2 separate regions of the Homo sapiens genome follow, and region 2 is linked to region 1. Evidence: promoter capture Hi-C in 16 types of primary human blood cells and fetal thymus (Javierre and others, 2016). All regions are on one chromosome and are shown on one strand. The core of a region is centred on a gene start or on the middle of the fragment in contact, and the rest is flanking DNA. Distances in the headings are between cores, read along the strand shown.

Region 1 (5,415 bases), core at 1,056-3,555:
GGTGATGTACTGGATAATAAAACTAAAGAAGAAAAACTTGGGCTCATATGAATCAATTATTGTAACTTAGTTATGATTCCTTTATATATGTGGACTCTGGTCAATTACACTTACTCATGATACCCTTACAGATATGTGATTATCCTGAAAACTTAATGGAGTGGTTAGCCAGCTGTTAATTTCAAATTTCCCAGAAAATCATCTAATGTAAAACACTTTTTAAAAAGCATATAAGTTTATTTTTCCTCTTTTCTGCTTTGAGAAGATTTGGGGCAATTGACCAATGTTCTCTAGAGAAACAGCTCACCAGGAATCATCCTAATGGCTGGTGGATAAGACTTGAGAAGAATCACTGCATTCTGTATTGGATATTTAGAGAACAAATGGATGCTTGGGGAACATAACACTTGGAAAACTCGCCTATGGCTTCCAGATAGCTAAAATGTCCACATGCTTACTAATAGCAGAGGTATGTATATGAAGAAATTCCAGGTTGAATTTCACAGGTACCTGGATCAGAACTAGGTGGAACAGATTCTTTTACATACTTTGAGTAGCTCAGAAGCTAACCGTCTATTACAAGTGAAGACCCGTATTGCCATTTCAAAATGTCTAGTTTCTTACTATCAAAGTGCCACTGGAGGAGCCAGCAATACATGACTACAAGTACACGGGCTTTGGAATCAAATGTCTCTGAATGAAGTTGCGTTTCTGTCATCTACCCGCTGTGTGATCTTTGGCAAATGCCTTCCCTTCTGGAAGCTTTGCTTTCCTCAACGGGGTAATGAAGCTGTACCTTGCAAGGTATGATAAGTCAGTGGGATCATGTATATAAACTGCCTATCCCAGTGTCTGGCACTGGATAGGTCCTCAACAGTGTTAACTGTAGTTATCATCAAGAAAGTCATGATGAAGTATACTATAATATTGAGTCTGTTCAATATCTTGATAGAGACTGGGTGCAGTGGCTCACGCCTGTAATTCCAGCACTTTGTGAGACTGAGGCAGGTGGATTACTCGAGTCCAGGAGTTTGAGACCAGCCTGGGCAACATGGTGAAACTCCATTTCTACCAAGAGTTAAAAAAAAAAATTAGCCGAGTGTGATGGCATGCGCCTGTAGCTACTCGGGAGGCTGAGGTGGGAGGATTGCTTGAGCCTGGGAGGCAGAGGTTGCAGTGAGCCAAGACTGCACCACTGCACTCCAGCCTGGGCAACAGAGTGAGACCCTGTCTCAGAAAGAAAAACAATTTTGATAGACACAGGTGACCTTTATTCAGTTGATGTAATATCACTGTCAGAACATAAGGCCAGTAGATCAAAATACCAACCTGCTGCATACATGTAATCTAACAATGAGCTTTTATATTATTGGTATCAGTAATAACAGCTGATATTTACTGAGTCTATATTATGTGACTGTCACTAGGTCAAGTGCTCTGTCTGCAGTATCACATTTAATCACCACAGCAATCCTATAATTTGGATATGATTATCCCCATTTTATAGACAAAAAACCTGAAGCTTAGGAAGGAGAAATAAATTGCTGGAGATTACATGGCTACTAAGTGCTATCAATATAGTGGGATCTAGATCTGGTCTGAATCCACAACACAGGCTCTCACAACCGGGTTACACCTCCTCTTAATTGGTCACACCATTTAAAGAACAAAGAAAGAGAATCTCTTATTAGATGGACTGACCCTACTCTGAGTTAGGAAAGATAAAACACTGAGTTGCGTCTCAAAAGGCTTTAGTTAATGAACAGGAAATCACATATTCAGGCTTGAAGCTAAGACTTAACCTTGTAAATTTTCCTGAAGTGAGAGAAATAGTGACCGTGATGTCAGGCAAAAATCGCCACCACGTGTAACCCATTTCTTCCTTGTTTTGCCTTTAGTTAGCTTCAAGTTCTTTTTTCACATTGTATCTTTTAAATGTACCGTACGTGTGTTGTTAACAGCACACTCAGAATCATATCTTGGCATTAAAATTCCACGAAGTCCATTTTGAGAATCATATTACTACACCTATTTTTAGCTGTTAACACAAACCACTCTTTCCATTACACTTTTAAATTATCTACTGATAAAGTGACATTGAAAATAACTCTTGTTGCCAAATAAAAACCCTATATTTGGTTTAATCGGGCCAGACCCATTGACCGGCATTATGCAATTATATTACTAAGGCTGCTACCTGCCCATGCCCCTCTCCTCCTCCTGGTTTGGAACTACCCTCCCCATCTGCTGCTATATTTATCTGCCTTCTTGGCCATAAAAGGCTGGTTGTGTGGCCTGACATTCGACTGCCTGACCACATGCATTATTTTTGAACTGGCCCCCAGGGTCCTGTCTTTAGCCCTGCCTCTTAACATTGTCTTGGATTCAACCTAGGTGGAGTCTTCATTCTCTCATCCAGCTCCTCGGCCTCATCGGAACATTTCCACCACCATTACTCCTTTGGAAACTGGTAAGTGTGACACTGAGGCAGAAGAATGCACTTGATAGCTTATGAGCTTAGCAGCAGTGCAGTGTAAGTGCTTTCTTTCTGTCTTCTGAACTCAGCAGTTTTCTCAAAGAGATGTCAGAATAACAGAGAAATAGGAAAGTGAAGCTCCAGGGAGGGAAACCAGAACAGCCGGGTGCCAGTCGGGCTGGCACAGCTCTTCTCTCACATCACTGTATTCTTCTGAAATTAAGCTGCTGTTCCTGGAACTGTAAGGAGGTCATATCTGCCTCGGATTGAACTGTAAGCGTGTGTTTAATGCTATTTCCAAGTACGGTTTGGTTGAAATCTGAAATGGATGAGAGACAGGAGGCCCTGCATTTTCAATCCTGCATGTGCCATACAATGCTCCCTGGTTACAAATTAGACCGAAAGAAGGAAAATTAACTCTGAAGTCACTAGTTTATAATTCAGGGATCTTGCTGTGACGATGCAATGTGGATAAATGTGAGCGCGCACAATGATATGGCCTCAAATGGTTAAGTAATATTTCAGAGGCAACATAGAGCCCCACATAGTGATTTTTCTGGGAATCGTTTTCATCAGCTTCTGCCCTCTAATGCCTGCACAAAAGTATCATAAATTACAGCTATGGAATTTGTATTTCTTCCTAAATTCTCAAATTATTTTCAGAAAGAAAATTTAGGTCTTAAAGAAACAAAAGACACTAAAACCATCTTTCCTCCCAACGTACTCCAGCCGTCATGTGTTGGAGCTAATCCTGGCTTTAGTTAACTTCAAGGGCTTACTTGATGAAGAGGAGGTGGTTGTACCTTTGTTCCAGAGGTCAGGGCTGTGACAATCAGCAATGTGGGCTTCAAGTCAAACCCTGTTTACTTGTAACTTACTATCTATGTGAGAGGAATAGTAAGTATTATTAAAAATAAATGTATTTGGGAGAAATAGAAATAAAGAGAGTAAAAAATAGTATTGGGGCAAGATATTTAAAGATTTTATTTTGTGAAAATAACAGCATTTCAAGTCATCTGGGGAATGAATTTAGTTTATAACATAACAAGTTTCTTTATTATTTATTTGAAAAATCATTCAAATAACATGTGCCATGTTACAATGTAGTATCATAACAGAAACTTCTCTAATATCTTTATAACTGCCTAACGTAATTCTGTATTAACATTTTCTAACCCCTTTGTTTTATCAAAATTCATCTAGTAGTTATTAATTATACATGGTAATTATCCTCCATATTTTGTAACAGAAAATAGCCATCTATTTAAGGGTTGAAGCAAAGTTGCTTGCTAGTAGCTATTTTTTTCCCTTAGGAAATGCCCTGTAGACTGATATCTTCCATGAACCCTAAGATAAATATTTCTGGAGTGAAGTTTGCTCAGTTTTCTTCTCTGGGGAATACATGCTGACTTTTAAAATAGTTTAAATAAAAAGTAGTTTTAAACTTGACAAAGAATATGCTGAGTTTAGAAGGATTCATTCTTCATTTTGAATTTTTTTAAAAATGACATTTGGAGAAAACAGATCACTTTAAAACTAATTCTACAGCATTAAAACACTTGGGGGTGGAGCTTTTATAAAACTATTACTTCATCCAGGGTTGTCAACGTGGCTGATAGGCCTGCTTCAGTGGATAAACTATTCAAGAATGCTAAGGCCATGTGACATCTCCCCACCCTATGCTAAACAAACATACCTTTGACTTTTAGTAGAACTGCTAGCTCAAGTTCACAATGCCAGCTGTCACCCTGGGAATCGACTCTCTTACCTCTTTAAGTAGGGAGACTAGAAGCCTGCATGTTCCTTATAGAGCAAACAGGTTTTTTTGTTTGTTTTGTTTTGTTTTCTGGTTTGAGACTATACCTTTGCTTGAAATGTTTGTGAGATTTGAGAGAGCTTATATATAAGATTAGCATACTCCAGGGTTCAGTTCTAGGACTTTATTTTACTTATTTTATTTTATCTTAAATTTTTATAATAGAGACAAGGTCTCACCACGTTGCCCAGGCTGGTCTCAAACTCCTGGGCTCAGGAAATCCTCCTGCCTTGGCCTCTCAAAGTGCTGGAATTACAAGCATGAGCCACCATGCCTGTAATTTCCTTTTCTGTGTATAATGGTCCTCATCTGTTTTCTTTTAGGACTTTCTTTTCCGTGTACAATGGTTCTCACCTATTTTCTTGGCTTTCGATACCACCTATATGCTGTTGACTCCCAAATGTATATCTGCATCCTGGACCTCTCTCCTGCACTCCAGAGTCATGTATCCAGCTTCCCACTTAAAATGTCTCCTCTGGGAGGTCTAACAGGCATCTCAGATGTAGAGCATTGAAACCAATCTCCTGTTCTTCCACCCCAAACTGATACTTTCCCACATTCCTCCCCATCTCAGTTAATAGCAACTTGTCTTTCAATTGCTCAGGCAAAAACCTTGGAGTCATCTCTTTCTTTCACATCCTAATTCAGAACTTTCAGCAAATGCCATTGGTTCTAACTTCAAAAGCTGTGCAGAGCTTGACCACCTCTCACACTTTCGCTGCTACCCCTGTCACCTCTAGCCTGGACCATTGCAGTGGACTTTGTATTCTTTTGCCCGGGCTATCATAGCTAAGCGCCATGGACTGGGTGGCTTAAACAACAGAAACTTATTACCTTACAACTCTGGAGGCTGGAAGTCCAAGATCAAGGTGTCAGCTGGGTGGTTTCTTCTCAGGTCTCTTCTCGGCTCATGGATGGCTGTCTTCTCCCTGTGTCTCCACGTGGCCTTCCCTCTGTTATATACATATTTGGATCTTGGTTTTCTTTTCCTATAGAGACACCATCATATAGAATTACGGCCCATCCTAATGGCCTAATTTTAACTCAACTTCCTCTTTAAGGACCCTATCTCCAAATATGGTCACATGTTGAGGTACTGGAGGTTAGGGCTTCAACACAGGAA
Region 2 (5,415 bases), core at 2,186-4,685, 290 kb after region 1:
TCTGGATTTGTCTGATTGTTTTTTTGAAGGTGACATTCCTATATTTTCTTAACTGGGAGTTAGCTCTAGAACTTACTGTCCACTAGAAATGGAATATGAATCACATGTGTAATTTTGAATCATCTCATTGCCACTTTTAAGGAAGTAAAATAAGGTGAAATTAAGTTTAGTGATATATTTCATCTAAGCCAATAAATCCAAAATATAATTTTAATATGTAATCAATATAAAATTATTAAGGAAGTATCTTAGTGTGTTTTACGCATTTTTAACATTTTGTGTACCTCACTTTAGCAACAGTTTAAATGCTCAGTAGCCACATGTGGCTGGTGGTCACTAGAGTGGGCAGTACAGGTCTAGAGGCTTAGAGTTATTGTTTGAATTGAAGATTAGTTTATTGCATGTATTGGGTACTCATATTGTATCTCATGATGACCACTAATAGTAATGCTGAACGTGATTATTGTTTAAGATGTTATCTGCCACATCTATCCATTGTGAAGTATTTTTTGTCCTTTTGTAGTTAGAAGGTAATGCAGGGTGGATACTTGGGCACCATGTGAATATCCTGTGCCCAGACAACCTTGCCTTCATGGTTTTAGAGTAATGCCCTCGTTCCCAATGCAGGTGGTTGCCTTAAGTTTGGTCATGCTTGTTCTTAGACCTATAAATACAAAAAAGACTTCACCATTAAAATATAAATTATTTAGGGGCTAGTATTACTCAATTAACAGCAAATGAGAGAATGAGTAAAATCAAAGTATATGTATGGAGCACTGAACTTCTCTTCTATTGGCATGGATGGCTGGGAACCAACCTAAGTAAAAAGGCTGGTTGACACCTTTAAAATTAAAACCCTATTCAAATCCTGCTTGTCACTCTTACTGTTTGCAAACGTGCGTGTGTTTTGCAGAGCTGTAAATGAAGAATAACTAAATTCTTACCTCTGATTTTTTTTTTAAACAGGTGTTCACAAAAGAAGCCAACACCAGGGACCTGATGATATTTACCTTGATGACTTAAAGGGTCTAGAACCTGAAGTTGCAGCTCTTTATTTCCCTAAAAGGTAGAGTGGTCCTTATTTATTGAAGGACAGCTCTGAAATAGTCTAGTTATTTCTAGAGTAAAACATTTCATCTCAGGAAAAAGGAACAAGATGATGGTGTCCTTTAGCTAAATCTGATGATGGCTTCAGGTTTTGGAAAATTTAGAAATAGCGCGTGTCTTATTTCAATATAGTGACTTGAAATTAATAATTACTTACGAAGACATTTTCAATACAATGAGGAGAGATATACTAGTTAAACCTACATAAGGGTATATGACTTCTGATTAGCATTTCCTGTAGTGGTTAATACAAACTCAACATGCTTGGGAAAATTTTTTAGCATTTATTTTATTATGTGTTTTAAAAGAAACACATCTTTATTTGAAAATGTTTTCCAAAGAATGTGTTCACTTCTTGGGAGTCTGAGATCCTGAGCCTTTTCTGAACCGGGTCTGGGTCTGGTGGGGCACTGCCCCCGCGCCCCGTGTCCCCACATCCCCTGCAGCTCCACAGCTGCCACCCAGCCTCCCTCACTGTCCCGCACCATTTTCCCTTTGAATTACTTCAAATATGGGCCTCAAATATGATACACTTGGACTGCCTTCCCAAGTTCATTTCTACTCTTAGGGGAATTCTGTTAAACTGCTACTCTGTGGTTAGAAAAAAACAACTTTTCTCCACGGAAAGTATGACTTGAATATACTGAGCCATAGGCACACATAATTAAACACTTGTAAATGAATTACTGAAAAGTATATTTTGTTTTTTATTTGGAATAGAAAGATGGGATTGATATAAAGCTATTTAAATTTTTTACAGGTATTTTGGGAAAGTTCTTAAAACTCCTTTCTAGCTCTGTCCTAAATTTATCTCAACATATCTACTTCATTTGAAGTAATAGTTGGATTTTTTTAAGGTGAAAAAACTGAAACGGCTTTATTTTAACAGTAGGAAAGTTCAAATATAAGCTGTCATAGAATTACCACTTTTCCCCCCACATTTCCCAGGCCTTAATCATTTATTTATATTGGTATTCCTTCGGTATATGTCTTAGTTTCTCTTTTAAAAAGTGAGGAGAGTAACTAAGGTGATGATACCTTACTCCACTCTACTGTAATTTAACTGTTCACAGTCACTGTCCATGCACTAAGTAAGCTTCTTACCTCATTAACTATTTCTTGAAACATTTCATAAATATTTAAAGATAGTGAGTGAGACTCTTGTAATCCATGTAAGCATTAGTCATGTCATGATCCTTAGCATCTTCATTACCAAATTTACAGTATTTGTAATTATCACTAAACTTTAATATAAATCACACACTTTTGTATTTGGTGGCATCCTGAGTCAGACGGCATCCCCATGTGTGTAGATGTTGTTGTTACTGGTTGGGGTAACACTAGCTGCTGTAGAGGTGGAACTCCTGATCTCGTTGGCCTACCACGATGGAATTTTGTTTCTTGCCCCTGTGAAGAATGCTCTGTGTTGGTGTTTAGGGGGAGGCCTTGCCCACAGGGATTCAGGAACACAGGCTCCTTTCACCTTGAGGCTCTCCCATCCCCATAGGGTCTCAGAGTCCAGAGTTTACTGGCAGCAGAGAAAGGAATGAGCATCGCATAGGAGAGGGCCCCTGGGGAGGGGCACCATGTATGCCTTCCGTCCATATTCACGGCTCAGTCATGTGCTCACGTGGCCCCACCTGACTGCAAGGGGGCCTCGCCGTGTGCCCCGGAGAAAGAGGAGACAGGTGTGGTGAACACAGAAGGGTTGGCCTTGCCCCTCACTCCCAGTATAACAACAGTTCTGCTGACTTTGTGTTTCCAGTGAGAACATTCTGTCAGTCCAGTTAATCTCAATTTTGTGGGTATGAGTGTGCATGGCTATTAAGAGGAAAAAATATCCAAAAACCTGAATTTTTTTGTTGATTCAAATGGGAAACAGGTTTTGAAACTGTTACCTAGTTAAAACATAATCTGTAGTCTGCTGCCACCTACTGCTCAAAGATGAGATTTGTTTGAAAGAGCCAGTAAACCTCTGGGTCACTGTTTTTTTAATTCACATAAAAATACTGGCTTTTTGAATAAAATAAGTGAATTTGAAAATTCTCAATATCTCAAATGTGACATTAAATACCTATTCAAAGGGTATAGAGTAGTAAGCATTGGGGACTGTGAGACTTAAGGTGCTGTGCCATTCATGATTATTCTTTCTCAAATTTACACTTCATTGCATAAGGTTTCCCTTGATCACCTTCTGAAACCTGGCTTCTGTGCCTTATCTTGAAAAATGAAAATATTCAGTAACCTCATCTTTAGCTCCTGGAATAACAGTTACATCCAGTTTATTTCTGAATACATTTCTTTTTCTAGGTGGGTCTTGCCTCTAGAGAATTTGCTCGTTTAATTTCTCCTTCCTTCTTTGTGAGGTAATAGGCGAACTTAGAAAAGATTTGGTTTTAAAGAATATAGCCTTGGACTACAGTAATTTTCTACAGGATGTATAAAGTGCCACAGCTTTTTCTAGGACGTTAGGATCAAAGGTTTCCAAACAGCAGATTTTCTTAATTACCCTGTCATTTTCATCATGGAAATGTAAATAAATACTTATAACTATTTTACTCCTTTAATTAAAAATCAGAAAGGCCACAGTTGAAATGTTTGCATTATTGTGAATGACCGTGGTGATTTTGTGACGTATTTACTATATTCACAGTTAATTTCTCACTGGTACTATATTAGGTTATCTTTCATGTCATTTATGATATGATTCTAAACCCTATCTAAGAAAAGTTATGCCTGATTGTAGGTCCATCCGTTCTTTTTAGCGGATGTGTTATTTGGTTTGAGCCCCCAGAGAACCATGCAGTAAACTAGGAATTCAAGGAGTTGTAATAAAGCACATCTTTTCCCCATCCCCTGTCCACAGTGAATCGGAGCCCGGTTCCAGGCAGTGGCCCGAGTCTGACACACTCTCTGGCTCCCAGTCCCCACAGTCCGTGGGAAGCGCAGCTGCAGATAGCGGCACCGAGTGCCTCTCAGATTCTGCCATGGACTTGCCTGACGTTACCCTCTCCCTTTGCGGGGGCCTCAGTGAAAATGGAGAAATTTCAAAAGGTACGTTGGGTGTTTGTGCCCCATCTTCATTTCAGAGAGCAATCTGGTCATCACTTGGTTAAAACTTACCGTGTAGCCATTTCAGGATATTTACATTCTTTAGGGATCTTGTGCAGGTAACAGGTATGTTCTGTAATGTCAGACCCTTATACCCTCACTTAAGGTCTTAATTGACACCTCTTTATGGAGTGGCTTTGAGGTAGTGTGCCCTTAAAGGCTCTAATTTCAAATTAAGAGGTTGGGAGTTATCAGGCCGCCCTGTTTTCTGAGCTGCCAGGGTGCGATCATCACACTGCACCAGTTTTCTCATCTGTAAAGTTACAGAAACATTTGTGGAACTGGGGCCCAGCTGCCCTTCTGGAAAGCACTGGGCCTTAGACATGAATATAGGGCCCTGAAGTTGTAGAAAATTGATTGTCCACTGAGTACGTGGTCTTTCTGGCAAAAATTAGGAGGATTACTTTCTGTATAAGGCTGGAGGGTTGGCCTACGAGAGTAAAGCTTGCTCAGGAATCAGGAGGGAGTTTAGCAGACATGTCAGGATGCCTATAGGCTGGGCTGAGTGCCATGTGCATCCGTCCTCAATTCATCAGCATTTTTTTTTAACCTTCCTTTTAAAACTGAACTCTTAGTATTTCTCAGTTTGGCCTGTGGCCCCTGTATGATTTTCTTCTAAGGGAAAATTTTCTTTCCGTGACTAGTGTCATCTTTTGTCTTCCCTCTCCCTTAGAGGAACTGAAGGTGTGATGTGGCAGACTGCATGGCCAGAGGCTCAGGACCATGTGTTCCTGAAGTCTTTCCTTTCCAGGGTCACAGGAAGCTCATTATGCCTCTTCCCTGTCTCTTCATTGTTTGTTTGCTTTATATTTTGCAAGAAATTTAAAGTGTGTTATGGCCAATGGTTCATTCTAGGGACTAAGTTAAATAGGTCACATTCTTTCTGTAATCCTCTTAAATGTTCAGTTTAAAAAATTATATGCGAGGGAATGCGAAATACAAAATGTAGGTAAAATATAAAAGTTACACCTTTGTTTTAAATATTGGTGACTTAGTCTAGTAGAGTTTATTGGAAGAGGCAGAAATGACAAGTAAATGTAAGTAATACACACATTACCTGGAGAAACAATCCAAGTGAGCAGTTTCTCTGTTAGCCTAGATCTAGGAGAATACAGGTTTAGGAACAGGGTACAAAAATTCATGGGAAGCCCTCATTCACTCTGCAAGAACTTGGGATTTATTTCACAGACCTTGAGC

The links. Contacts are between HindIII fragments. The CHiCAGO score rates a contact against its expected background, and 5 or more counts as called.
Region 2: a fragment that was not itself captured here is called in contact with the fragment with the promoter of MYOM1 in region 1 in 16 of 17 cell types (megakaryocytes, erythroblasts, M1 macrophages and 13 more); the score reaches 16.2 in megakaryocytes.

Annotation. Positions count from the first base shown.
Region 1 is chr18:3,216,858-3,222,272 of GRCh38, reverse strand. MYOM1 (myomesin 1) reads left to right here and starts at 2,305. Exons shown (of 38, transcript NM_003803.4): 1 at 2,305-2,470. RefSeq lists a silencer at 4,008-4,302. The HindIII fragment of the contact is 10,525 bases long and covers 1,525-5,415 here.
Region 2 is chr18:2,930,002-2,935,416 of GRCh38, reverse strand. It overlaps LPIN2 (lipin 2), which reads left to right. Exons shown (of 20, transcript NM_001375808.2): 8 at 967-1,066; 9 at 3,974-4,161. Among named protein-coding and RNA genes, the nearest start is that of LPIN2-AS2, 34 kb to the left of the region's middle. The HindIII fragment of the contact is 2,459 bases long and covers 2,206-4,664 here.